Linked DNA regions of Homo sapiens: regions 1, 3, 4, 5 and 6 are each linked to region 2. Evidence: promoter capture Hi-C in 16 types of primary human blood cells and fetal thymus (Javierre and others, 2016). All regions are on one chromosome and are shown on one strand. The core of a region is centred on a gene start or on the middle of the fragment in contact, and the rest is flanking DNA. Distances in the headings are between cores, read along the strand shown.

Evidence for each region. Contacts are between HindIII fragments. The CHiCAGO score rates a contact against its expected background, and 5 or more counts as called.
Region 1: a fragment that was not itself captured here is called in contact with the fragment with the promoter of OPTN in region 2 in 2 of 17 cell types (naive CD8 T cells and endothelial precursors); the score reaches 5.6 in naive CD8 T cells.
Region 3: a contact is called between a fragment that was not itself captured here and the fragment with the promoter of OPTN in region 2, in 3 of 17 cell types (megakaryocytes, endothelial precursors and naive CD4 T cells). The highest score is 7.6, in megakaryocytes.
Region 4: a contact is called between a fragment that was not itself captured here and the fragment with the promoter of OPTN in region 2, in 1 of 17 cell types (endothelial precursors). The highest score is 6.5, in endothelial precursors.
Region 5: a contact is called between a fragment that was not itself captured here and the fragment with the promoter of OPTN in region 2, in 1 of 17 cell types (endothelial precursors). The highest score is 5.7, in endothelial precursors.
Region 6: a fragment that was not itself captured here is called in contact with the fragment with the promoter of OPTN in region 2 in 1 of 17 cell types (endothelial precursors); the score reaches 5.8 in endothelial precursors.

The regions. Positions count from the first base shown.
Region 1 is chr10:12,206,132-12,210,569 of GRCh38, forward strand. CDC123 (cell division cycle 123) reads left to right here. Exons shown (of 13, transcript NM_006023.3): 3 at 3,836-3,893; 4 at 4,159-4,191. Among named protein-coding and RNA genes, the nearest start is that of CDC123, 12 kb to the left of the region's middle. The HindIII fragment of the contact is 8,609 bases long and covers 1-4,438 here.
Region 2 is chr10:13,096,536-13,101,464 of GRCh38, forward strand. OPTN (optineurin) reads left to right here and starts at 3,628. Exons shown (of 15, transcript NM_001008212.2): 1 at 3,628-3,767. It also overlaps a transcript of CCDC3 not described here. RefSeq lists silencers at 2,904-2,963, 3,434-4,003 and an enhancer at 4,284-4,413. The HindIII fragment of the contact is 12,315 bases long and covers 1-4,929 here.
Region 3 is chr10:12,254,827-12,259,752 of GRCh38, forward strand. No RefSeq gene overlaps it. Among named protein-coding and RNA genes, the nearest start is that of CDC123, 61 kb to the left of the region's middle. The HindIII fragment of the contact is 2,765 bases long and covers 613-3,377 here.
Region 4 is chr10:12,223,453-12,227,828 of GRCh38, forward strand. The region is part of intron 6 of CDC123 (cell division cycle 123); the gene reads left to right. Among named protein-coding and RNA genes, the nearest start is that of CDC123, 29 kb to the left of the region's middle. RefSeq lists enhancers at 2,254-3,189, 3,190-4,123. The HindIII fragment of the contact is 5,961 bases long and covers 1-4,376 here.
Region 5 is chr10:12,185,810-12,190,617 of GRCh38, forward strand. NUDT5 (nudix hydrolase 5) reads right to left here. Exons shown (of 10, transcript NM_014142.4): 2 at 420-523. The coding sequence starts at 482. Among named protein-coding and RNA genes, the nearest start is that of NUDT5, 7.7 kb to the right of the region's middle. RefSeq lists an enhancer at 4,269-4,808. The HindIII fragment of the contact is 591 bases long and covers 1,890-2,480 here.
Region 6 is chr10:12,167,111-12,171,970 of GRCh38, forward strand. It overlaps NUDT5 (nudix hydrolase 5), which reads right to left. Exons shown (of 10, transcript NM_014142.4): 8 at 3,790-3,798; 9 at 3,607-3,660; 10 at 1-701. The coding sequence ends at 592. It also overlaps a transcript of SEC61A2 not described here. Among named protein-coding and RNA genes, the nearest start is that of NUDT5, 26 kb to the right of the region's middle. The HindIII fragment of the contact is 293 bases long and covers 2,733-3,025 here.

The DNA of each region.
Region 1 (4,438 bases), core at 602-3,101, 890 kb before region 2:
TACAGTGAATAAAATTTGTCATACTTTACAGTAGGCACTGCAATAATTTCTGAAGAACTATATGAATACCTTGATAACAAGTATGTTTTTTAAAATGTATGTTGTTATACTAACAAATATGGTAAGTGATTTTTAGAGTGGTAGAATACATTTTCATATTTCATCTTATATTGTAAGATTAGGTAAGCAGCCATGTTAAAGATAATGTTGCATTTGAAAATATTATGTGGCATTTAAAGAGAGACGTAAGAGAGAAAGGCTGGCCCCTTGGGCAGGGATTCACACGCTGACAGTGTGTTAGTATTTCCACTATAGAACAGTTCTTAGCTTTGACTGGTTCTTAGCTTTGTGAATCTGGAAAAGCAAGAATTACAAAGAGTTGATTAAAACTTGGGGAAGGCCGGGTGCAGTGGCTCATGCCTGTAATCCCAGCACTTTGGGAGGCCAAGGCGGTTCGATTATCTGAGGCCAGCAGTTTGAGACCAGACTGACCAACATGGCGAAACCCCATCTCTAGTAAAAATACAAAAATTATCTGGGCATGAGGTCAGATGCGGTGGCTTATGCCTGTAATCCCAGTGCTTTAGGAGGCCAAGGAGGGCGGATCACAAGGTCAGGAGATCGAGACCATCCTGGCCAACACGGTGAAACCCCATCTCTACTAAAAATGCAAAAAAATTAGCCGGGTGTGGTGGCGGGCGCCTGGAGTCCCAGCTACTCGGGAGGCTGAGGCAGGAGAATGGCCTGAACCCGGGAGGTAGACCTTGCAATGAGCTGAAATCACGCCACTGCACTCCAGCGTGGGCAACAGAGCGAGACTCCATCTCAAAAAAAAAAAAAAAAAAAGATTGGAAGCATTATTGTATCCATTTTTGCCCATTTAAGGTATTTTTTCTCCATTTATTGTGTTAAGTACTTGGTGAGCCCTTTCATTCTAAAGACTTTAATTTTCCTGTTTCAGGATATTAAAAAAGAATCTTTGATAATTTCCTCTAATTTCTTGCTTCTCTTTCTGGATCTCCTATTATTTTGGTGTTTGATCTTTTGGCTTAATTCTCTGAATTTTATTATTTCTTCTCTATTTTCTCTTTCCGTGTCTTTTTTGTTCTACTTTGTAGGTAATTATTTTTCCATTCTATTGAATTTTAAAATTTCAACTATCATGTTTTCAGTGTCTACAAGTTCCTCTGTTCCTTTTTTATAGCCTCCTGTTCTTCCTTAATGGATGTGACATCTTTTATATTCGAGGATATTAATGATTTTTAAAAATATCTTTCATCTGGTCCCTTTATTGTCTTTTTTTCTTCCATGTCCCTTTTTTCTCTCCTTTTTGAAAACGTTTTTCATCTTGGAGTTTTTTGTCTGTTTTCTAATCATTGTAGGCCTTCCTTCATATTTAAGAGTGAGGAGGACACACACAGATATTTGCAAACTTTGTGTACCTGGGTGGAGCTTGATGCCTGAGGATGCCAGCAGGCAGCAAACATTGATGGAAGATTCCCAGATAATGGTGTGTCCTCTGGGGTTGCTCAGTTTCTGCCCAGAAGAATCCTTTAATCTGTCTGTGTTGTGGGAGCAGGGTGGGAGGAAGGGGACTAGGGGTCGCAGTGTTCAGTTTGACTTTCACATAACTTGTCATCATAGTCCAGGTCCAGCATTTCACCCCCATATTCATTTGGGCCATTATGTACCTCAACCCTCTTGAGTTCATTTTTTCCAGAGAATAAATCTGCTTACCAAAGGGGCTGAGGAGAATTAGTTGCTAGGATGTGCAAGGTAAGGAGATGGATATGTCTCGCTGCTCCCTGGATGGACTTCAGAGCTTCCTTTCCATGTTCCAGGATAACTCTTAAGTTCTAACCTGTTGCTCCTTGGCTTATTCCTCCCCTTGACTTTCTGTTTTCCAAACTTTTGTTGCCCTCTTTCTTCTATGGTTGATTCCTTTTCACTCAGCATTGTCCTTGGGATCTTTTTTTTAGTAGAGTTTCCAGAGGGAACACAGAGATAAAAGCACATGTTTAACCAGAATCTTCCTTTTCCTTTTCTTTCTTTAGTCTTTGCATAGCTGCTATGCTAGTTTTTATGATTATTTTTCTCAATGATATGAGTTATTCCTAGGCTAGTTATTTGTAGTTGTGTGTTGAGGAGGGGCCAGAGTGGTGTTCTGAGTCTTCCCTCTGAGTTCTTTCAGCCTCTGATTCCCTCTAGGCAATGAAGATGGGCTGCTGGGTGGCCCTTTTCAGCCCTTGTGTTGCAGGTGAGCAGTGACTATTTGGGGCCAATGGTGTGGGTGGTAAGAAGAATTTACCATGACAGTTGGAGGCAGAGAAAGGCAAATTTATTAGAGAAAGTGTGAAAATATGTTGCAAGGGTACAATGGGCAGGTCAGCAAGAAAGGAGCTGACTGCAGGGAGACAGAGGCTTGCTGGGGATTTTATAAGATGGTACTTGTGCTGTGTCCTGAAGAGGGCTTTGTGCAGCGCTGATAATGCCAAGGTTGCAGTGAGCTCACTTGCATTTTTCTGTCAATTGAGGGTGCGGTAATAGCTGGGCATGGAAAGATAGTGAGTTACTTGCGCAGGAGGGCTGTGTGTCCTGGACCATGAAGAAAGGCAGACTTACAGCTTATCTGCCTTGTCTTTTTGCTTTCTTCTGCTCCCGCCAGTCCAACTCCTCTTCCCTAATGAGGACTGCACACCTCGCTTTGCTTCTGCCTTCTTCAAAGACAGCATGCCTGTTTATTTTCCCCTCTCTCTCTCACCCTTTGCTGTGGTTCAGTCTAGATGCAGAATGAATTTCTGACACCAGCCCGCACACCCTGTTTTCACTGTGCAAAGAAAAGATTCTTGGTTTTGCCCCCACAGTAGTTCCATCATCTGTGTAGACAGGTCTTCAGACATTCGCTTCTGGTGTCTTCCTTTATCCTATTCCATCTTTCCTTTCTTGAGAGAACTTTCTCATATACTGAGGTTCAGAGTCTAGATGATTCTCAGTATTATCAGCAATGGAGTCTTTTTTTCCCTTTCCCTTGTTTTTAATGATATCTGAGAACAGGACAGAAAGGTTTTATTCTGTCATCTCTTCATGCAACTGTACTCTCATTTATTTATTTCTTCTTTTTTTGAGACGGGGTCTCACTCTCTTGCCCAGGCTATAGTGCAGCGGTGTGATCTTAGGTCATTGTAGCCTCAAACTCTTGGGCTCAAGGGATCCTTCTGTGTCAGCTTCCTGAATAGCTGTGACCACAGGTGTTCTCCTTCACACCTGGATAATTTTTAATTTTTTTGTAAAGACAGAGTCTCTGTGTTACCCAGGCTGGTCTCAAACTCCTGGGCTCAAGCAATCCTCCCATCTCAGCCTCTCAAAGTGCTGAAATTACAGGTGTGAGCCACCATGACTGGCCTTGTTCTTCAATTTTAAGGCTTTTATTTTTATTTATTTATTTTTGAGACAGTGTTTTACGTTGTCACCCAGGCTGGAGTGCAGTGGCACGATCTTAACTCACTGCAGCCTCGACCTCCCATGTTCAAGTGATCAGTCCTCCCACCTCAGCCCCCCAAATAGCTGGGACTACAGGCGCATGCCACCTCGCCCAGCTAATTTCTGTGTATTTTGTAGAGACAGGGTTTTGCCATGTAGTCCAAGCTGATCTCTACCTCCTGACCTCAAGCGATCCACTCACTCAGCCTGCCAGAGTGCTAGGATTACAGGTGTGAGCCACCACACCTAGCCTAATTTTAAGGCTATTTAAAAACATATACTCAGTACCCCTGAAATTAGGAGCATGCGGTGCCCAAGTCCTTTTCTTTCTTGATGTTTGTTTGTGTTTTTTTAGGGATGATCCACCAACACATTCTCAGCCAGACAGTGATGATGAAGCAGAAGAAATACAGGTTGGTACCAAATAAAATAATCTGTTCTGTAGACTGTTGTAATTTAAATGATCTCTGAGATGGTTCTGACTTGTAGATCTTATCTTACATCTGATAAAATGAGAAATTACGTGAGAATCTTACTTTGACATATATTTTCACATATGCTGTATTCCGGAAAAGATGTCTCCTGTTTGATTTATAATTTTTAGATGGAGCACTGCTTTTTGAAGCCCAGTGCAGTATTTAAATTTAATGTTTTATTTTTTTCCTCTTTTTCATGCAGTGGTCTGATGATGAGAACACAGCCACGCTTACGGTAAGAGCACAGCAGACTCAGCGTGGGGACAGCCTCACACTGTCACACAAGGGTTAGCGTCAAGGTTTAAGTGCATACCTCTCTTAAATTCCTAGTCAGTCACCATCTCATATATTATTTTCCCTGTGGGCTGTCGTTTTTATTTTGAAAAATAACTTGAAGCATCATTTAGCAGGCAAACATGATTTGCCCTTTTTCCCTTTGATTGCAAAGGAAATATTTCGAGTGCGTATTTGATGCCTTGACT
Region 2 (4,929 bases), core at 2,378-4,877:
GGTCTGGAGAGGGGAGGTCTCCTTCCCTACGGCCATGCAAAACTCCAGGAGGGCTTTTGGTACCCATTGAAGTAAGGGCCATTTATTTTTCAGCCCAGCAACATTGCCACTGATACCCTCATTATCAAATGGTTCTTCTAGGGAACAGTCTCTGCTGTTTCCAATGACAAGCCTGGGCAGCAGAATCTGCGGGAGGTTCCCAAAGTCCAGTAGGTGCATCCCAAGAGCTTGCTGTCTGTCTGGGTGCTGCAGGGACTGAGGCTTGAGTCCTTGATGCTCATAAGACCACCATCCCACTCCTCCTCCCAATCTGGGGGCGGGGGAGTCACTCCTCCCTCCAACTGTTGTGAAAGCCTCCACCCCACCCAGCTCTGGCTCTTCCTCCAGGACATCTGGGGTAGATCATGGATGTATTGAGATCAGGCTTTCTCAAAAGACAAGAAGAAAGGCTGTACTTCTAAGAGCTGTTGCCAGGAGTCCAGCCAACGCTCCTGAAGGTAGGAAGCCCAAAGGGACTCGTTGCTAACTCCAAACAGAGGAGATTGGGGTGGAAAGGGAACACAAGGAACATCAAACCCAGATTAGGATCTCACTAAAAACCTTCCCACACTGCTCTACATTTACCCACCACAAAACCACATCAACAAATCAGCTAAGAGCATGCTATTATTTCAGTTTTTTCGCTGCATTTAGATTCCATCTACCCATGGAAGTGTGCAGGAAGATGGAGTCACCAAACGGGATGATCCAGGCTAAGAAACAGAACCGGCTCTAACACAAGCAACAGCAACAAACACCATGAGCCAGGCGTTCTTCTAGGTGTTGAAGACGTATTTCCTCTTTAATCTTCTCAGCATCCTTAGGTGAGGGCTGTGGGTCCAGAGGCCTTATCTAAAATTTTTGGGTGGCTGGGCACCGTGGCTCACACATGTAATCCCAGCACTTTGGAAGGCCGAGGCAGGTGGATCACCCGAGGTCAGGAGTTCAATACCAGGCTGGTCAACATGGCGAAACCTCATCAATACGAAAAATGCAAAAATTAGCTTGGTGTGGTGGCACACGCCTGTAATCCCAGCCACTTGGGAGGCTGAGGCAGGAGAATCACTCAAACCCAGGAGGTGGAGATTGCAGTGAGCTGAGATTATGCCACTGCACTCCAGCCTGGGCAACAGAGTGAGACTCCACCTCAAAAAATAAAATAAAACCTTTGGGGCAAGCTCTGCTTTAGAGTCCAGAATTCTGGGGATTTTCAAAAGGCTATTCAATAAATGGGATTTATATCACATAACACCCTGACACTGTCTGACGCAGTTCTCCTATCAACTATTCGATTTTCCTTCACAAAACAAATTTAAAAATCACATCAAGGGATCTAAATAAAGACTGTAAATAGCTTTCCATCAGTTGGGTCTGGTCAGAAAAGAGGTTTGGTCCTTAGAACTTTCTGGATTTGGGAGTGTACTATACTCCCCATTTTACAGATAAAGGGAATGAGGAAGGGTAAGATGAAGTAACTTGGTCAAGGTCCTACAGCTAAGAAGTGGTTGTCGGGGGAGTGTGTGTGCATGTGTGTGTGCAGTGCTTCAGGGCACCCCCCACCCCGACCCCACCACTGAGAGCAAGGAATCAGGAGAAAACAACTTTGACTGCTTTCTGTACCAGAAACTCACCTCGAGCCTCCCACACCAAAGCCATGGGCAGCTTGTGGGTGACCTTCTTCTCTTGGCTCTGAGTTTCACTGATGCTCATTTTAATTCACTTTCATAGTGTTGTTTTGTTCTCGTTTTTGTTTTTGCTTGAGACAAAGTCTCCCTCTCACCCAAGCTGGAGTGCAGTGCTGCAATCACAGCTCATTGCAGCCTCTCCCTCCTGGGCTCAAGCGATCCTCCTGCCTTGACCTCCCAAAGTGCTGGGATTACAGGTGTGAGCCACCGTGCCCCACCTATAGGGTTTTAAACAGTAAAAGGAGCCTAGTGAAGTACGACTTACCGCAGGCACCCCTTACAGGCCCCGGGGGGACCCTTTTCTGCCGATCCCAGGGTACAGCTGTGACACCGTCTTTTCTGCCTGGATTATCCCAGTAGATAAACAAAAATTAGAGATCGTCATTCCATTTCTCTCTGTATATATTTTTCCAAGCCCTTTTCATGAATGATCAGTTATTTCCTGCACTGATTTTTTTTTTTTTTTTTTTTTTTTGAGACGGAGTCTCACTCTGTCACCCAGGCTGGAGTGCAGTGGCATGATCTCGGCTCGCTGCAAGCTCTGCCTCCCGGGTTCAAGCGATTCTTCTGCCTTAGCCTCCCGAGTAGCTGGGACTACAGGAGAGTACCATCATGCCCGGCTAATTTTTGTATTTTTAGTAGAGACAGGCTTTCACCATATTGGCCAGGCTGGTCTCGAACTCCGGACCTTGCGATCTGCCTGCCTTGGCCTCCCAAAGTGCTGGGATTACAGGCGTGAGCCACCGCGCCTGGCCCTCCTGCACTGATATAAAAAGAATTTTTTTAAATTCTCTATTTCTCCCCACTCCCACCCCCAGGCTCACTCCTTATAAAGCAGCCTCTAGCCTCATCTGCCCCTCCTACACCACACCAACTCGAGGGCCCGGAATTGGGTCTGGGGCAGTCGCTGACTTGCTTGCTTCTCTGCCCTGCTCTTGGGGTTAGCCTCAGGGGCAGGGTTGAGAGTCAGGCTTGGCCAGGCAGCAGGAGGTCCAGACAGCGAAGCAGAATCCTTCGGAGATACCAGGAGAGGGCGCATCTGCCTTTTTCCTGTTTCAGATTAGGTTTTGTTGTTGTTGTTTTGTTTTTTTTCTCTCCCTCTCTCCCTCCCTCCCTCTCTCCCTCCCTCTCTCCCTCTCTCCGTCCCTCCCTCTCTCTCTCTCTCCCCCTCCCTCCTTCCCTCCCTCCCATCCCTGCAGCGCTACCCGGGTACTCTGGATGCACATAGGGCGGCTCTCGCTCCTACCTTGTCATCCTGCTGTCTAATCCGGGGGCAGCTTCCCTCCTCCACACCAGCAGAGGCTATTCTTCAGCAACAAGAATAGCCGAGCCTATTCGTCCGCAACAAGAGCCCAAGAAGCATCCTGCAGGCTTTCTGCTTTTTGAGTGTATTTTAAAGCAAAAACGAGTGGAAAGCTATGTATGCTCAGTTAACTATGTCTAGATGTTAACCTTTTTTCAAAAAACACAGATGGAGGCCTCCCTCCGAGGATGCCTGGCATTCTCCTCTTTCTGTGGGCGGCAGCGACCCCCTGCGGCTCCAGCCTCCACTACGGGATCTGCGGGAAGACACGGGGAAGACGAACTCCGCACACTGCATTTGATTAATGATTTATTTTGATTAACGCCGTCACAGTGACGCCTTAGAGCAGTCCCTGTTCACCCGGGTCCCAGCCTCGACCCCGCACGGACAGCGAGGGTGGGTAGCTGGGGGCGGACGCAGGAAAGAGGAGGGGCGGGGCCTTGGTCGGGTGGGGTATGGAATGGGCAGGGTGGGGGGGATGGGCGGGGTATGGGATGGGCGGGGCCCGGGAAATTCCCCGGCGCGGGCAGGGAGCGGCTGGCTGTCAGCTGAGCCGCGCTGGGCGGGGTCGCCAGGCCGCGCATCAGCCCTAGGCACCCCAGTCCCGGCTGCCCCCTCCGCCACCGCCGCCGCCCGCCGGCAGGTTCCCTGGTCAGCGTCCCATCCCGGTCGGGAGTTCTCTCCAGGCGGCACGATGCCGAGGAAACAGTGACCCTGAGCGAAGCCAAGCCGGGCGGCAGGTGAGCCAGGGCAGGGGGCTGCAGCGGTGGGCGAGGGGGCGGCGGCTCCTTCCCGGCGGGCGCTTCCGCGGCCTGAAAACGGTACCCGCCGCCCTGCCCCGCGGCCCGGAGCCTGTCGGGGTGAGGGTGGCGAGGGGTGGGGCGGCCCTCCCGCGAGACGGCTGCCCTGGGAGGATCCCCAAGCCTCGGCGGGTCCTGACCTGGTGGGAGAGGGTGGGTAGTGAACACAGGGTGGGCCCAAGAAGGGTCCAGGGCCGGCCTCTTGGCCGCAGGTAACCCCTCTACAAGTCACCCAGAGACTTGGAGGTGACGTCCTCCCGCAGGCTGGGAAGGATTCCGCAGCCAGTTCCTCGCCATAAGGAGGTGGTTACAGACACGCCTGTGGGAGACATGGGACCACTACCCGAGCTGAATGAGGTGCCCAGGGTCGGTGGGAATCCACATAGACTGCTGTGTCTAGGAGAGTGTGTACACTCTATATAGAGAGAATATTTGATGAGGCCGAGAACCCCAAAGGAATTGTTTTTGCCATCGAAATGCATAAGCTACAGGAAGTAAACATCGCTCAAAGAAAATGAAACCCAGGTTCCGACCTGGCCTCCACCAGCAGGAAAACTGTTGTATGGAAATGTACACCAAGGAACTGTTTGTAAGGATGAAATGGAAAATGAAAGCATAGAAAAGTAAGGCAATGTGAGGACCTCAGAAGCCTTTGGATCTGGTTAGCAAGGTGCAGGCTGTGTGAACAGAAGAACCCACCTTGCTCTTTTGACCCAGGGAGAGAAGAGTTAGTGGTGCCAGGCTGCCTCCCAGGACAGGCCCAGTTTTGGGGCGGGGGCTGGAGAAGTCCCAGGGCAGACCCCAAGGCCAGGGATTGCCCTGGAGTGGACAAGGCAAGTTTAAATGTGACCTGTAGACAGAGGACGATCATTGATTTAAGTCCTGGCATAATTCATCTGTTTTTCCACTGGGCCAATTTTAGGCGTTCTTTATATATTACGTACAACACAATAAAAGTAACAGCTTCTTTTTTTATAAACTAACCTTTAGGTTGCATATTATGCTAGGAATATAACTAACCTAACCTCCACCCCCCCACCCCCCCACCCACCCCCGGAAAACCAAACTTTATTCTCGAGGGCAACTGGACACTGTATTATGT
Region 3 (4,926 bases), core at 745-3,244, 840 kb before region 2:
CAAGGTGGGTGGATCACCTGAGGTCAGGAGTTTGAGACTAGCCTGGCCAACATGGTGAAACTCTGCCTCTACTAAAAACACAAAAAAATTAGCCAGGCATTTTGGCACGTGCCTGTAATCCCAGCTACTCAGGTGGCTGAGGCAGGAGAATTGCTTGAATTTGGGGGGTGGAGGTTGCAGTGAGCCGAGATTGTGCCACTGCACTCCAGCCTGGGCAACAGGCACAGAGCCAGGCTGAAGCCCTAGTGTTCTCCAAACTGTCACCCCAGACTCACAATATGTACTAGATAAATTGCAGGTCGTCTTCTTTTCTTCCTTCCAACTGAGTTCATTCCCCCACCCTCCCTCTGTTTTCTCCTCCTAAGAAGTCATTTTGTTCAGCCACAGTTTATAAGCAGGGCCCACTGTTTAGGTCTGAGGAACAGGACAGGGTTGTACTAAGCACTTAGGCAATGATTCTTATCTGGGAAGGGCTGACAGCTTATTCTTTAATGTCTACAAATTGCTTTGAAGACAAAAAATGCTACAAAAATGTCAAGTAATGTTATTGCTTTTAGGAACATTTGTTTTCCACCTTGTGAAAGGCATATATCTCAGGTCAATGAAAGCTCAAGCTTCCAAAGCCAGACTGAGTTTCTCTCACTTACAAAAGAAGCATAGCCTCCTTTGCATGTATTGGTAATGCTGAGAGCATTGGAGTTCTTAGTTCTTTACAAAAAAAAAAAAAGTCACCAAAGAAAGAGGACACCAGGAGGCCGGGCACGGTGGCTCATGCCTGTAATCCCAGCACTTTGGGAGGCCGAGGCAGGTGGATCATGAGGTCAGGAGATCAAGACCATCCTGGCCAACATGGTGAAACCTCGTCTCTACTAAAAATACAAAAATTAGCTGGGCGTGGTGGCACATGCCTGTAATCCCAGCTACCTGGGACCCTGAGGTAGGAGAATCACTTGAAACAGGGAGTCGGAGGTTGCAGTGAGCCGAGATCGGGCCACTGCACTCCAGCCTGGCGACAGAGTGAAACTCCGTCTAAAAAAAGAAAGAGGACACCAGGAGCTGGACGCAGTGGCTCAAGCCTGTAATCCCAGCACTTTGGGAGGCCGAGGCGGGAGGATCAATTGAGGTCAGGAGTTCGAGACCAGCCTGACCAACATGGCGAAACCCCCGTCTCTACTAAAAATACAAAAATTAGCCAGGCGTGGTACTGGGCACCTGTAATCCCAATTACTCGGGAGGCTGACGCGGGAGAATCATTTGAACTCAGGAGGCACAGGTTGCAGTGAGCCGAGATCATGCCATTTCACTCCAGCCTGGGCAACAGAGCGAGACTCTGTCTCAAAAAAAAAAAAAAAAAAAAAAGCGCCAGGTAGGGACATAGGAAAGAAGGAATGGAGAGGAAGGAATACTCTCAAATACTTTTTTTTTTTTGGAGACTGGGTCATGCTCTATTGCCCAGGCTGGAGTTCAGTGGCATGATGATAGCTCACTGCAGCCTCCAATGGCTGCCCTCAAGCGATCTTCCCAACTCAGCCTCAGATGTAGCTGGGACTATAGGCACACACCACCATGCCTGGCTGATTTTACTTTCATTTTTTTTGTTACCCAGGATGGTTTGGAACCCCTAGACTCAAGTGAACCTCCCGTCTCAGCCTCCCAAAGTGCTGGGATTACAGGCATGAGCCACGATGCCTGGCCACTCTCAGGTCCTCATGGGGAAATAAATGGAGTATAAATGGATACAGCATTGTAAACAGACAATTTAAAAGACAGTCCGTGCAGAAAGGTCACTGGTACCTCTCAATGAGTTTATAGGTATGAGGAGTGAAAAGGACATCATATGGCCACCTCTCATCACCCTTGGTGGCCACAGACTTGTCTTTTTTGAAATCAAAATGAGAATGTCCAAATCAATCTTTTTTTCTGGCCAGCAGGGGGGAAGGGGGGATGGAGTCTTGCTCTCGTAGCCCAGGCTGGGGTGAAATGGCACAATCTTGGCTCACTGCAATCTCCGCCTCCCAGGTTCAAGCAAGTCTCCCATCTCAGCCTCCCTGGTAGCTGAGATTACAGGCACCCGCCACCACGCCCGGCTAATTTTCGTATTTTTAGTAGAAACGGGGTTTCGCCTCCCAAAGTGCTGAGATTATAGGCATAAACCACCGCGCTAGGCCCGAATGAGTCTTAAGAAAGGAGAGACAAAGATCCCAGGGTATGATTTGCTCACTTCTGGATTTTGAATGCAAAATAATGCTCCCCCAAAACTCGAATAATGGGAAGAAGTATGGTCAATCAGTTAAGCAGTTTTGGTTGCAAACAACAGAAACTAACTCTAGTTAATGAAAGCATGTACTGGAAGGATGTGAGGTGCCTCAGGAAATTGGCGCAAAGTGTGTAAGCTCCACAGAGAGAACGGAGACTGGGAAAACTTTGGAGACGCAAAAGACACTATCCCAGGACTTAGCTACTAGAGAGATTCTGCCTTCTGTCCTGATGACACTGGGCTCAAGATTCAGTATCCGGCTGGGTGCCATGGCTCACGCTTGTAATTCCAGCACTTTGGGAGGCCAAGGCGGGTGGATCACCTGAGGTCAGGAGTTTGAGACCAGCCTGGCCATCATGGTGAAACCCCATTTCTACTAAAAATACAAAAATTAGCCATGTGTGGCAGCGGGTGCCTGTAATCCCAGCTACTCGGAAGGCTGAGGCAGGAGAATTGCTTGAACCTGGGAGGCAGAGGTTGCAGTGAGCCGAGATTGCACCATTGCACTCTAGCCTGGGCAACAAGAGTGGAACTCCATCTCAAAAAAAAAAAAATTAAAATTATTTTTTTGTCTCCCAGGCTAGAGTGCAGTGGCATGATTATGACTCATTGCAGCCTCAATTTCCGAGGCTCAAGCTATCTTCCCACCTCAGCCTCCTGAATAGCTGGGACTACGGGAATACACCACCACGCCTGGCTAATTTATTTTTATTTTTAGCAGAAACAAGGTCTTGCCATGTTGCCCAGGCTGGTCTTGAACTCCTGAGCTCCAGCAGATCCTCCTGCCTCAGCTTCCCAAAGTGCTGGGATTACAAGCATGATCCACAACGCCGGGACCCTTCCCAGTGTTCTCTATGATCCTTTCTGCATCTCCATCCAGTACCCTCAGGACCTCACATCTGTCTGTCTGTAATAACCAACCAGTTGGGCTTGCAAACCTGCTTCTATCTTCCTCCTGCCTTTCTTGTTTGATATAGATTCCATATACCCCATGTAATTTCACTCTGATCTGTGTAAACTTATTTTCCACGACCCTTAAAACATCCTCAGCTCCCAGCAAGTCTGCCTTCTCCATGTTCTTTCAATATCCGCGGCATTCCTGCTTGCTGCCTCCCCTCGAAGCTTCCTGCTCACCTGGAATATGAATGCCCTCCTTAAGCTCATCTGTTCATTTAGGCCAGAGATTCTCAGTCTTAGTCGTATATTCTTTTTCTTTTCTTTTTTTTTTTTTAGACGGAGTCTTGCTCTGTCTCCCAGGCTGGAGTGCAGTAGCGCGATCTTGGCTCACTGCAAGCTCCGCCTCCCAGGTTCACGTCATTCTCCTGCCTCAGCCTCCCAAGTAGCTGGGACTACAGGCGCCCGCCACCACACCCGGCTAATTTTTTGTATTTTTAGTAGAGACGGGGTTTCACTGTGTTAGCCAGGATGGTCTCGATCTCCTGACCTCGTTATCCACCTGCCTTGGCCTCCCAAAGTGCTGGGATTACAGGCTTGAGCCACAGCACCCGGCCATATACTCTTTTTCTTTTTCTTTCTTTTTTTTTTTTTTCCACATAGAAACAGGTATGTGCATTGGGTGGGGTGGGGGGGGGGTCTTGCTATGTTGCCCAGGCTGGTCTCAAACTCCTGACCTAAGGATCCTCCCACCTTGGCCTCTCAAAGTGCTGAGATTACAGGCATGAGCCACTGCACCCGGCCCCTAGTTGTGTATTCTAATTACCTGGAGAGTATTTTTTTCTTAATCAATGGAGAATACTCATCCAGACCAATTAAACTGAAATCTCTGGGGCCCAGTAGTTTGTTCTTGTTTTTGTTTTTGTCTTTTGCTTTTGAGAGGGAGTCTCCCCTCTGTTGCCCAGGCTGGAGCATAGTGGTATGATCTCTGCTCACTGCAACCTCTGCCTCCCGGGTTCAAGTGATTCTCCTGCCTCAGCCTCCTGAGTATCTGGGATTATGGGTGCCTGCCACCACACCCGGCTAATTTTTGTATTTTTAGTAGAGATGGAGTTTCACCATGTTGGCAGTGGTTGGCCAGGCTGGTCTCAAACTCCTGACCTCAGGTGATCTGCCTGCCTCGGCCTCCCAAAGTGCTGGGATTACAGGCATGAGCCACCAGCTGGGCCCAGTAGTTTGTTGTTTATGTTTGTTTGTTTGTTTTGAGACAGAGTTTCACTCTTGTTTCCCAGGCTAGAGTGCAATGGTGCAATCTCGGCTCTTCACAACCTCTGCCTCCCGGGTTCAAGCAATTCTCCTGCCTCAGCCTCCTGAGTAGCTGGGATTACAGACATGTGCCACCATACCCGGCTAAATTTTGTATTTTTCAGTAGAGACGGGGTTTCCCCATGTTGGTCAGACTGGTCTCCAACTCGTGACCTCAGGTGATCCGCCTGCCTTGGCCTCCCAAAGTGCTGGAATTACAGGCGTGAGCCACCGCGTCCAGCCAAGGCCCAGTAGTTTTAAACATCCCCCAAATAATTCTAATGTACTGCTAAGGTTTAGAACCCCTATTTAAATATTAGGCCTTATGTGAGCATCTGTTAACCCCTCCTGCTCCTAAGGCCCTCCCAGATCAATGTAGCCACTATACCTTTGTCCTCCTTCTTTGAGCTTCTAGAGAGCTACAGTCCACATTATCAAACCAGCAGCTCGTTACCTGCTTTATTGTATTA
Region 4 (4,376 bases), core at 582-3,081, 870 kb before region 2:
TTTTTGTATTTTTAGTAGAGACAGGGTCTCACCATGTTGGCCAGGCTGGTCTTGAACTCCTGACCTCAAGTGATCCACCTGCCTCGGCCTCCCAGAGTGCTGGGATTATAGGCATGAGCCACTACACCGGGCCTAATTATAATTATGAAGTCCACAAAAAATAGCATGTCAGTCCCAAGGCATGTTTAGGGCATAATAAATATACCTATTTATAGTAAGGCCATTTGGCTGGCAGAAAAGCTAAGTCTTCTTTGAGCTGAGGATGATTTGGGTAGTAATAAAATAAAAAAATGTGGCACTCCTTTTATTTTTTTTTGGTAAAATTATTTCAGTGTTTATTTTGCTTCTGAGTAAAGACAAGGGATGTGTAATTATCTGTCATTGACGTACACTATGTATTTCCCCCTGTATTTTTATTTTTTTATTTCAGTAGGTTTGGGGGAACAGGTGGTGTTTGGTTACATGGGTACATTCTTTAGTGGTGATTTCTGAGCTTTTGGTGCACCCATCACCTGAGCAGTGTACACTGTACCCAACGTGTAGTCTTTTATCCCTCGCCAACCCTCACCCTTTCCCCTGAGTCCCAGAAGTCCAGTGTATCATTTTTATGCCTTTGCGTCTTCATAGCTTAGCTCCCACTTACAAGTGAGAACATACGATGTTTGGTTTTCCGTTCCTGCGTTACTTCACTTGGAATAATAGTCTCCAGTTCCATCCAGGTTGCTGCAAATGCCATTATTTTGTTCCTTAAAAAAAAAAAAAAGACATCTGATTAGTCATCAGTACTAGTTAAGCATATTTCTTTAGTTTGGGGATAGAATATTTTTTCTTTTCCTTTCTTTTTTTTTTTCTTTCCTTTCTAAAAATTTGTGTCTATAACATTGCTTTCCAAAATTCCTGTTAACTGGCAAATATTAAAGTGTAGTAAAAATATGCTGGCATAATTTCATAGTAGCTTTCATCAAAGTAGGCCTTTGGGATTTTGCTTTTTTTTTCTTTGGAATAAAATCTTTGCTATTATTATACCTGAGAATTCTTTTAGTTTGCCACTTACATTGTAAATAATGTAACATTTATTACTTAATCACATTTGTGTTTATTTTAGAATTTTCATAGCTTGCTAGAGGGACTATAATTATTCTGCCAAGAATTTGAACTTTGAATTCAACATAAGAGCCTCCTTTCAGCTTAGACTACAAATTAGTGACTGTAGTTGAATACCACGTTCTTTTGGTACTTTGTTGAAAATTTCAGTTGAAGAAATCTTCCAAATTAATGTTAAATAGTAACCCAGGAAAAAAATTTGGGGAATATTTTGTGGTGGTGGTGGTTTTTTTGTTTTTGTTTTTGTTTTTTCTTGAGACGGAGCCTTTTTGTCGTGGGAAATGTGCTGAGTCCTCCAGTGACCTTGGTGGGATTTAGGGTAGCCAGACTGAGTTTTCTAGCTGAAGCTGCGGCCCTGAAGGCTATGCTTGGGGTCCGAGCTGCTCCAGTTTGATGCTTCCTTCCTTTTCCCTATTTCTTCCTTTCCCCAAGAATGGTGCAGACTTCCTGCTGAGGCCTGTAGTTGGTGGACAGGCATATCCTGGCGCTTTTCCCAAGAACCCCTTACAGAGCTTGAACTGCAGCTACTCCTCAGAATAATGATTTCTAAAATATGGGCTGGGTGCGGTGGCTCACATCTGTAATCCCAGCACTTTGGGAGGCCGAGGCAGGTGGATTACCTAAGGTCGGGAGTTTGAGACCAGCCTGACCAACTCGATGAAACCCCATCTCTACTAAAAATACAAAAATTAGCTGGGCTTGGTGGCACACGCCTGTAATCCCAGCTACTTGGGAGGCTGAGGCAGGAGAATTGCTTGAGCCCGGGAGACGGAGGTTGCAGTGAGCCAAGATCGTGCCACTGCGCTCCAGCCTGGCCACGGAGTGAGACTCTGTCTCAAAAAAATAAATAAATGAATAAAAGAAAAGAAAATATGTGTCTAGTCCCCATCTTGGACACTTTGGATTGGAATCTCTGGGGAAGTATTTTGAAAAATCATCTCATTCCACTCTCTCATTTTCAAACCTGTGTTCTAGAAGCTCTGACACACCCTGAGGTTCAGCGTGCAGTAAGTAGTTAACTGAATATAAAGACAGGGAAGAAAAAGCGGGCCTGACAAGTTGTCTACAGATTTGATTGCATAATGAACTTTAGAAATCACCCAATACCATCTGCCATTTACTGCTGAGGCAACTATGAGCCAGTCCCAAAAAATAATTGACTTTTCTCTTTTTTTTTTCTAGCTTCTCTCTTTTTTTTTTTTTTTTTTTTTTTTTTTAGTATTTATTGATCATTCTTGGGTGTTTCTCAGAGAGGGGGATTTGGCAGGGTCATAGGACAATAGTGGAGGGAAGGTAAGCAGATAAACATGTGAACAAGGGTCTCTGGTTTTCCTAGGCAGAGGACCCTGCGGCCTTCTGCAGTGTTTGTGTCCCTGGGTACTTGAGATTAGGGAGTGGTGATGACTCTTAAGGAGCATGCTGCCTTCAAGCATCTGTTTAACAAAGCACATCTTGCACCGCCCTTAATCCATTTAACCCTTCGTGGACACAGCACATGTTTCAGAGAGCACGGGGTTGGGGGTAAGGTTATAGATTAACAGCATCCCAAGGCAGAAGAATTTTTCTTAGTACAGAACAAAATGGAGTCTCCCATGTCTACTTCTTTCTACACAGACACAGCAACAATCTGATTTCTCTTTCCTTTCCCCACACTTCCCCCCCTTCCACTCAACAAAACCGCCATCGTCATCATGGCCCGTTCTCAATGAGCTGTTGGGTACACCTCCCAGACGGCGTGGCGGCTGGGCAGAGGCGCCCCCCACCTCCCTCCTGGACGGGGCGGCTGGCCGGGCGGGGGCTGCCCCCCACCTCCCTCCCAGATGGGGCGGCTGGCCGGGTGGGGGCTCTCCCCCACCTCCTGGAGGGGGCAGCTGCTGGGTGGAGACGCTCCTCACTTCCCAGACGGGGCGGCTGCTGGGCGGAGGGGCTCCTCACTTCTCAGACGGGGCGGCCGGGCAGAGAGGCTCCTCACCTCCCAGACGGGGTGGAGGTTGGGCAGAGACACTCCTCAGTTCCCAGACAGCGTCGCGGCTGGGCAGAGGCGCTCCTCACATCCCAGACGGGGCGGCGGGGCAGAGGCGCTCCTCACATCCCAGACGATGGGCTGCGGGGCAGAGGCGCTCCCCACATCTCAGACGATGGGTGGCTGGGCAGAGACGCTCCCCATTTCCTAGACGGGATGGCGGCCGGGAAGAGGTGCTCCTCACTTCCCAGACTGGGCGGCCAGGCAGAGGGGCTCCTCACATCCCAGACGATGGGCGGCCAGGCAGAGACGCTCCTTGCTTCCCAGACGGGGTGGCGGCTGGGCAGAGGCTGCAATCTCGGCACTTTGGGAGGCGAAGGCAGGCGGCTGGGAGGTGGAGGTTGTAGCGAGCCGAGATCACACCACTGCACTCCAGCCTGGGCAACATTGAGCACTGAGTGAGCGAGACTCCGTCTGCAATCCCGGCACTTTGGGAGGCCGAGGCTAGCAGATCACTCGCGGTTAGGAGCTGGAGACCAGCCCCACCAACACGGCAAAACCCTGTCTCCACCAAAAAAATACGAAAACCAGTCAGGCGTGGCGGCGTGCGCCTGCAATCCCAGGCACTCGGCAGGCTGAAGCAGGAGAATCAGGCAGGGAGGTTGCAGTGAGCCGAGATGGCGGCACTACAGTCCAGCCTCTGCTCGGCATCAGAGGGAGACCGTGGAGAGAGAGGGAGAGGGAGAGATAGACCATGGGGAGAGGGGGAGGGGGAGGGGGAGGGGAGGAATAATTGACTTTTCTAAGACCATAAAATACTAGTACGGAGCCCAAGGTCCTGATTGTGATTTTTAACCTCTGGTCTATTGTTCTCTTACATTCATTGGAACGTTTTCCTTTTCTCCTTATGTAGATTATCTAATCTAAAATATTCATTTGGCTCTATACTGGATATGTGTACAAAAGTAATTTTCTGTCTTTTTTTTTTTTCTTTATGAGACAGAGTCTCACTCTATTGCCCAGGCTGGAGTGCAGTGTCACGATCTCAGATCACTGCAACCTTCAACTCCTGGGTTCAAGGGATTCTCGTGCCTCAGCCTCCCAAGTAGCTGAGCTTACAGGCATGTGCCACCATGCCCAGCTAATTTTTGTATTTTTGGTAGAGATGGGGTTTCATCATGTCGGCCAAGCTGGTCTCAAACTCCTGACCTCGTGATCCGCCCACCTCAGCCTCCCAAAGTGCTGGGATTACAGGCGTGAGTCACCGCACCCAGTCCAAAAATAATTTTCTTAAATAATAGAAAACGTA
Region 5 (4,808 bases), core at 935-3,434, 910 kb before region 2:
ATACATTGGTTCTAGAATTCACTGGAATTTAGACTACAATTAACAACGTAGGTTTTTATTGTTCTTAAACACTCATGTTAGGCCATCAACAGCCAAGTTGTGACAACTACATATGAAATATCTGAGTCCGCAAATGCATATATTCTTTCTTCTTCTATCTAGGGAAATACAGGAAGGATTAAGAATTTTTCTGTTAAGAGCCCAAATCTCCTAGAGTCTCAATTTCACTAATACACAGAGAGACACACTACTCCTCCCACACAAGAGCAAAATGTGCCCGAGCCCAAAAAAGGGAGTAGGAAAAATCTTTACAACTGTCTTCAAGAATGAAAGACCACCATTGTAACAACAGTCTATATATTTCTGCTAAACTCAGATTTATGTGGGGGAGGGAAGGGAAAGTGAAAAACAAGTTATACCTCCTCTGAAATGATATACTGTTTGCCATTCTGAGAAGATTCCGTTGGTTCTTGGCTCTCCATTTTCAAACGAGTCTTTACAGCCCTCAGGTGAGAAGTTCACCCTGCAAGATAATGAGATTTGTTCAGGCTAAAATTATTTTTCTGAATTAAACATTCGTCCACAGGACACTAGTCAAAGTACTTAAACGGCAAAAAATTCATCTACCATCAACGCTGCCTGTCTCAGTATGTGAGGGAACTGCCGCAGGTGGAAATGTGAACAGGGAGGCCCGGGGATTAGCCAGGAAGGAAGTGACAGCAGTCCTAGTCACCCTCAGCCACAACAGCCAAGCTCCTGCCATGCCTGTTCTAGGCACTTAGAGGCCACCCTTCTTCATCAGATTTTTCTTTTTTTTTTTTTCTTTTTTGTTTTTTTTGAGAGAGTCTCACTCTGTTGCCCAGGGTGGAGTGCAATGGCGCGATCTCAGCTCACTGCAACCTCCGCCTCCTGGGTTCAAGTGATCCTCGTGCCTCAGCCTCCCGAGTAGCTGGGATTACAGGCATACATCACCAGGCCTGGTAATTTTTATATTTTTAGTAGAGACAGGGTTTCACCACGTTGGCCATGCTGCTCTCAACCTCCTGACATCAAGTGATCTGCCCTCCTTGGCCTCCCAAAGTGCTGGGATTACAGGCGTGAGCTACCGCGCCCAGCCTGATTTTTCTGACTCCGAATCTTAAACTCTTTCCAAGGGAAGACAGAAGAAAGATTTACCACTCTCCATGCCCACCTCTCAGTCTTTTATCCATCTGTTACACCTAAACTTACTTATTTTTTGAGATGTAAGATCTCACTCTGTTGCACAGGTTGGAGTGCAGTGGCGAAATCATGGCTCACTGTAGCCTCTACCTCCCAAGCTCACGTGCTCCTCGCATCTCAGCCTCCTGAGTAGCTGGGATTACAGGTGCATGCTACCACAGCCAACTAATGTTTTAAACTTTTGGTAGAGGTGGGGTCTCACTATGTTTCACAGGCTGGTCTCAGACTCCCGGGCTCAAGCGATCCTCCTCCCGCCTCGGTGTCCCAAAGTGCTGGGATTACAGGCATGAGCCACTGGACCCACCTCCCCACTTACTTTTAAGTTTCAGCATGTATCAAAGTCATAGTTGCAGAGAAAGGATCGAGTAGTACTACAAGTTCTGTTATGAAAAGAGCAGGCCCTTATCCCATTTATTGTATATTATTATTTCCTCTTTCTTTATTCCTTCATTTTCGGACCTTGCCTGTCCGAAGGTCAAAGTCTTTTTTTCTTACCCACACACATGGTTGTTAATTCAGCTGTATATAGAATTATAGACCCAAAGCCAGTTGTCTATGAAACTGTAAGGCATTGCTTAGTTGTCTTACTTCTGGTGCTGCTGTTGAGAAGTCCAAAGCTATTCTTATTCTTGATCTTTTTGCCATGTGACCTGTCTTCCTCCTCTGGAAGCTTGTAGTTAGTCACTTTCATGTCGATGTTATTGTACTGGGAAGTCAAGTGGGTCCTTTCAATCTGGAAACTTCTTACTATGCTTCTTTACAGGGAATTTTTTTCTTGAACGACTTCACTGATGATTTCCTCCCCTGTGTTTTCTCTGTTGTTTCTTTTAAGAACTGTTACTTGGACCAGGCACAGTGGCTCACACCTGGAATCCTAGCCCTTTGGGGGACCAAGAGTCTGAGACCAGCCTGGGTAACATGGCAAAACCCTGTCTCCACAAAAATAAAAAATAAAAAAATTAGCCGGGTGTGGTGGTGGGCACCTGTAGTCCCAGCTACTCAGGAAGCTGAGGCAGGAGGGTCATTTGGACCCAGGAGTTGGGGGTTGCAGAGAGCCGAGATCACGCCACTGCACTCTTACGTTCCACGGTTCTCTAACCTACCCCACCTAACTTCGGCTTCAAAGAAAATACAGCCCACCCAGCATCAACTCTCTTCCCAACTGTCCTAAAGGAAAAAGTGAGTCTGCTCTTTGTTTCTTCTGGGACCCAAAGTGATCATACTACCCATCTGATCTTCAATTTGTCCCCAAGACAGCAAGCTTCCCTATTCTAAAATACAATCAATAACAAAACCAACTGTATGAATATTCATAAAGTGCGTTTACAAATCAAATATCTGATTGACTATCATAGGTAACCCTTGTGGCCAACCTGTGAAAGGTGAGATGATGTTTTAGGAAAGTGGCGGTGAGGCCGGGTGCGGTGGCTCACGCCTCACGCCTACAATCCCAGCACTTTGGGAGGCCAGGGCGGGTGGATCACGAGGTCAAGAGATGGAGACCATCCTGGCCAACATGGTGAAACCCTGTCTCTACTAAAAATACAAAAATTAGCTGGACGTGGTGGGGTGCGCCTGTAGCCCCAACTACAGGGAAGGCTGAGGGAGGAGAATGGCTTGAACCCAGGAGATGGAGGTTGCAGTGAGCTGAGATCGTGCCACTGCACTGCAGCCTGGCGACAGAGCAAGACTCCATCTAAAAAAAAAAAAAAAAAAAAAAAAGTGGTGGTGAGAGGGACAAAGACCCTCACTCCCCCGGACCTCATTTTCCAGTGAGGAGAAAGGAAAAACAGTGAGGAAGAACACAAAATTTATGTCAAGTGACTCAGCGTTTCATGAAGAAAGATTAAAAAGGATGAGAAGTGTGGGGAAGATGGGAAGAGTAATCTACACGGAGTGATCAGGCAAGGCCTGTTTAATTTGGTGACTTCTGAATGGAGACCTGAAAGCAATAAGGAAGTAAACCACGTAGAAGTTTAAATATTTAGAGACAGACATTAGCATATTGAAACCTGCAGCCCTACTAAGAAAACAGGCACTTATTCCTTTGAAAGTACCATAGATGATAATTTATTAGGTAAACTTTTTTTTTTGAGATGGAGTTTCGCTCTTGTTGCCCGGCTGGAGTGCAAAGGCATGATCTCGGCTCACTGCAACCTCTGCCTCACGGATTCAAGCGATTCTCCTGCCTCAGCCTCCCGAGTACCTGGGATTACAGGCTCCTACCACTGCACCCGGCTAATTTTTACATTTTTAGTAGAGATGGGGTTTTGCCATGTTGGGCAGGCTGGCCTCGAACTCCTGACCTCAGGTGATCCACCAGCCTCAGCCTCCCAAAGTGCTGGGATTACAGGCGTGAACCACCGTGCCTGGCCGCTAAAAGAGAGTATTTCTTTGGAATGCAATCAGCCTCAAAGGGAAACAGTATCGTGCAGCAATCCACTGATTCCGTGAATGACAAAAATGAGCTATTTCAAGAGCATATTCTTAACTATGAGATTCCCAAACATTTCAGAAGGACTGTAAAAGTACCTCAGAAATTTTTAGAAACAGAAAAGGAATGTTGTTTTTAGCACCATTTCAAAAGCAGAAGCCAAATAGTGCCATTCGGGGGCCAGTCACTGCCAGCAACACGCTGCAGAAAGAACGAGAAATGAGCTTTAAATTCCGTGCTTTGTAAGCCAGCGTCTCCGCCACTGCAACGGAGTTTGCCTTCACTGACTCAACGCTATTTCAAGATTTAAAAGCAAACTTTGATATAAATTTTATCCACTTCATTAGTTAGAATTTAAGGTAATTTGCATATTGCCAATATGTGTATGGTATGAAAAAGATACATGTACACGATGTTGAGTGTTCTACAATTTTTTTTTTTTTTTTTGAGACAGAGTCTTGCCTTGTCGCCCAGGCTGGAGTGCAGTGGCGCGATCTCCGCTCACTGCAAGCTCCGCCTCCTGGGTTCATGCCATTCTCCTGCCTCAGCCTCCCAAGTAGCTGGGATTACAGGTACCTGCCACCATGCCTGATTAATTTTTTGTATTTTTAGGAGAGACGGGGTTTCACCGTGTTAGGATGGTCTCGATCTCCTGACCTCGTGATCCACCCGCCTCGGCCTGCCAAAGTGCTGGAATTACAGGCGTGAGTCACCGCGCCAGCGAGTGTTCTACAATTTCATTTATGATTTTCCTTAGTCTTTAAAGTCACAAGCTGTTTTAATTCTCATAAATCGTTTTAACTCAGTTCAGTTTGAACACTGAAGGTCTAGGATGTGTTGGATGTGTAATTCTCCAGAGCATAAAAAAAACACTAGTGAGGGGAAATGCTGTAAGATTTTTAGACGTCTTGCACAGTGGCAGGCTAACTAGCAGTCTCTAACTAGCTTCGAGAGCACCAGCAGTGGAAACGTCTGTGTATATACTCAGTGCACACTGACCACTATGCTTGCCCTTGAGCACGTTACAGTTTAGCAAGCACATCTGGGGCAAAGACCTGCCTCAGAGACACCACCATACCAGGATGTTTTAAAGGAGGGACACACACATCCCCTTGGGAGGCAGTGAGGAAAATGATAAAGCCTTTTTTTTTTT
Region 6 (4,860 bases), core at 1,629-4,128, 930 kb before region 2:
TCCTTACTTAAAAGCTGGTTCAGCCTCAGTAAATAGATGAACTGAAAACTAGTAGAGGATTCTATCGAACCCTACCCTAGTTGGATTCAACTACCCTAGATAAATTTTGCATAGTAAAAATTCAATTAGAAGAGGCCAAAAAGCCTTTTTTTTCTTTTTAACGCTGTTTTAAACACTAACGGAGTACATGGTTATTTGCATACCCAGCTTAGAATTTTATATTGGGGGTTGAGAGTGGAAATGACCTAATTGAGAACTCAGGTCTATTTCTCTATACAAATACCCCTGTCTACCAGACTGGACTAGAAAAGTAACTGAGCTGTAGTTAACTGCTGTTGAGCTTTAAAAAAATTGGAGTAAACATACTTGCATTTATATTCTTTGTTAATTTTAGCTGGAGTTATAACAAATTTAAAGGAAGGTCACAACCTACCTGTAATTACAATTCCATACCACCACCACATCTGTTCTGTGCTTTTATTTTACGAAAAAGCTAATGGCAAATCTACATTAAACTAAGTTGAATACAAAGTCTTAGTGAAGAAGGCCTGGTGGTCTCGTTTACAAAAATGGCCAGTGTCATATTTGGGCTTAAAATTTCAAGAAGGGCACTTCAAATGGCTTTGCATTTGCATGTTTCAGTGCTAGAGCGTAGGAATAGACCCTGGCGTCCACTGTGAGATGTTCTTCAGCTACCAGAGCTGTGGAAAGCAAAGAAAACAACTTAGATCATGCCGTTAAGGAAGGACAAAACATCTTATTCAATCAGTGTTTGCGCAGCAGGTACTACTATATGTCACTTCCTATGCTAGATGCTGGTGATAACGTTTTTTTTGGTCTATAAGGATCTTAAAGAATAAAGACTATAAAGGCAAGATTACATTCCTAGCATGAGACAAGAACATCAGGGATAATGATTTTTTTTTTTTTTGGTGAGACAGTCTCGCTCTGTTGCCCAAGCTAGAGGGCAATGGCGTGATCTCGGCTCACTGCAACCTCTGCCTCCTGGGTTTAAGCGATTCTCCTGCCTCAGCCTCCCCAGTAGCTGGGACTATAGGCGCACGCCACCACGCCCAGCTAATTTTTGTATTTTTAGTAGAGACGGGGTTTTTGCCATGTTGGCCAGGATGGTTTCGATCTCCTGACCTCGTGATCCACCCGCCTCAGCCTCCCAAAGTGCTGGGATTACAGGCGTGAGCTACCGCACCCAGCCAGGGATGATTTTATGTGTGAAAACAGCAAAGTTGGAAGTGTATAGAGCCAATCGCTATACCTCATTTATAGCTGGGGTAGGGCTTTGCTTTTCTGAAACCAGATGGTGATGATTATGTAGGATCTTAGGGATTCCATCTTTTCTGCTGCTAGGGGATACATATGTTCCCCCGGCAAGTTAAACTGTGTGCATGTTAGGACTGGAGATCTACTACCAAGAATGCGGTCTCAGGACCTTATTACCACAGGCTTTCATTAAAATTTGTTTCACTCAGATGGAGGTTGCCAGATGTAAAATCAGCCTCTTGTTTTCCTAGCCGCTTGTTTGGGAACAAGCCTGGGGACATTTGCAGGCAGGAAGCATGTCCTACTCACCTGGGCACAGCAGGTGCTTGGTAACTGGCAGATGCTACTCTTTGTAGCAAACTGATCTTTTTTTAATTTTTTTTTTATGTTTTTGAGATGGAGTCTCACTTTGTCGCCAGGCTGCAGTGCAGTGCCACGATCTTGGCTCACTGCAACCTGCGCCTCCCGGGTTCAAGCGATTCTCCTGCCCCAGCCTCCTGAGTAGCTGGGACTACCGGCATGTACCACCATGCCTGGCTAATTTTTGTATTTTTAGTAGAGATGGGGTTTTACTATGTTGGCCAGGCTGGTCTGGAGCTCCTGACCTCAAGTGATCAGCCTACCTCGGCCTCCCAAAGTGCTGGGATTACAGGCGTGAGCCACCGCACCCGGCCAGCAAACTGATCTTAAAATGTAATACTTTCCTTCCGACTTCTCAAATGTTGCTGGTTGAATAAACGGTTTGATTACTGTATTTTGATTCTGCTAAAGCTAGGCAACTTGGTTCTTTTACCCCTCCTCCTTTATAGCCATAGTAGCCCTCTCTCCACCTCCCCTCACTTATTCTATTTTTTTCTCCCTTTTCTAAGACCAAAAGTGAAGTTAAGAAGGTGGAAGGGAGAAGGAAGACATTTTACAAAAAGGATACTCTTCTACTAAAAGATAACCCCGCACGGCATTTCACACTTGCCTACGTCACCCTGCTTTCCACGCACCTCCTCAGAGGGAGGGGCTGTTATTGTTCCTGTTTTATGAAAAAAGCCGAGAGAGGCTACAGAACCTGTTTGATGTGATAGCTAATTATGGTCCGCGGAGCCTCAAACCGAGTCGGGCCTGTGACTCCGAGCTGCGCTGCCTCGTATTGATTGTCATGCCTTTCTCCAAATACGCACCAGATAAACTATTGTATCTATTCAGTATGATTGTTCTAACTCTGGCTTTGAGCTGTCGAGGTGGCTTCTACCTTAGGTCTAGTTTTTGGAAAGGTGAAGCAGGAGTGGAAGCTCTCTAAGGGATACGAAATCTGATTTTATCCAAAGAAATCACAGCAGCCTTTGAAAGACACATTCAGATTTTCAAACAAACAACAGACAATTCAAAACCAGGCGCTCTGCTTATTCACTGAAACCGTAAGCTGCTGAAACTCAGGGAAAAGCTTAAGAAACTGGTCTTAAAGCTTCAGGCCAAACAATGCTTCAAATCACATTTGAAGTAATCACTTAAAAACAGTAGAAAAATCAGTTATCAATTACCTAAAACACTTATACCCAATAAAATATTCCCATGATGACAAGTGTCTGCTTCTTTCTAGATGAGTGAAAGGGATTTGCCAGCCCATACAGAGGTGCTCCTTGAAGGGCCCATGGTATGTCTCCATACAGTATCTCCTCGTCTCCACACAGTATCTCCTCATGTCTCCATACAGTATCTCCTCTCGTGGTTTTATCAAAGGACTTTTCTCCCCATAAGCTTACTGTTTACAAAGTCTCTAAAAGATGGGTGGCCAAGAATTATACAATGCATCTACATGACCAGTGATTTCTAAGGGCCACACAGCTGGTTTGGTTTATTATGTGAAAAGCATATCACACGGAGTATACAGGAAATACCTCAAGTATTTGTTGAAGGAGCATCATCAATTTCTCCTTGAACATACAGCCTCCACAAAGGACCATCCCTCATACTAGCATACTTGAGGAAAAGCTAACAGCTTATCTACCCACACCTTTGCATTGCTATGGACTGAAGGTTTAAAGTGTAGAATCGTTTTGGCTACTCAGCAGGAATGTCATCTGGGCCATTCTGTAGGAGAAAAAGCCTCTACCAAAAGTTTGCACTTGACCCAGAATGCTTTGCTCTTATTTTCAAACTCTGTGCCACCCAGAAAGGAAAATTAGTAGTGGTCACCTGCAGTTTTACAAGTTGCTAGGCATTTGACTTTAGTGATACAAAAAAGATAAAGAAATGGAGTTATATTTAGTACCCAGTTTGCTGGGATGGGGACGGGGAGAACTGGAGAAACTGGGTGGCGGTCTGGAGAATGCTTACCATCAAGTCTCTGCAGCAGGTCATTCTTGGGTAAAGAAATGACTTCCACAAACTCTAAACAGACAAAGTGCAAGTGAAAACAAAGCTAACGTCAAGAGCCTACCAAAACAACCCAAAATGTCTGCAGCCATCACCACTACACTAAGTCATACACGCTCGGCCACCAGGAGTTGCAGAACATACCTCCATCCCCTGGAAATAAACAGAAGGAAAACATTTCAGCAAGGCCTGGAGTGGTAACATCGGAAGACTTTTATACAAGAGGCGTCAAAAAGGCTTTGAGAATTTCACAGAAGCCTGGGTTTCTGCTAACTTAATTTATATACATTGTCAAACTCGAGCAGTATGAAGTTATTGTTCTCCACATAATGTTAAGTAGCAAAATTTAAAGCATATTCGATAGTATGTATATTTTTATAGATATGAATCTGCGTATTATGTAAAATATACAGAACATATAAAAACTTACCTTTTAACCACTATGAAGGTACAATTCAGTAGCATTAAATAACATTCAAAAAGGTGCACAACCACCACCAGTATCCATCTCCAGAACTTTTCATGACACCCAACAGAAACTCGGGATCCACTCAACACTAATTCCCCATCCCTAGTAGCGCTTACTCTACTGTCTTCCTCTATCAGTTTGTCTATTCTGGGCACCCAGATACGTAGAATCAGAGTATTTGCCCATCATGTTATCGCATGTTTCAGCGTGTATGTGTGTTTGTGTGTATACCACACTTTGTGGATGCATTCATCTGCTGGCAGACACCTGGGTTGTTTCCACAGAGGCGGCCATGAACACAGGCACGCAAGTATATGAGTCCCTGTTTCACTTCTTCTGGGTGTAGACTTAGGAGATGAAATGCCAGATCATATAATAATTCTGTATCTAATATGCTGAGGAACTGCCAAACTTTTCCACAGTGTCTCATATGTATATGTGCAGTTCAAAAATTAAGATTTATTTTATTTATTTATTTATTTATTTATTTATTTATTTATTTATTTATTTATTTTTTGGAGACAGGGTCTCAGTCTGTTGCCCGGGCTGGAGTGCAGTGGTGTGATCTTGACTCACTGCAACCTCCGCCTCCTGGGTTCAAGTGATTCTTGTGTCTCAGCTTCCCGAGTAGCTGGGATTACAGGTGCGCACCACCATGCCTGGCTAATTTTTGTATTTTTAGTAGAGTCAGGGTTTCACCATGTTGGCCAGGCTGATCTCGAGCTCCTGACCTCAAGTGATCCACC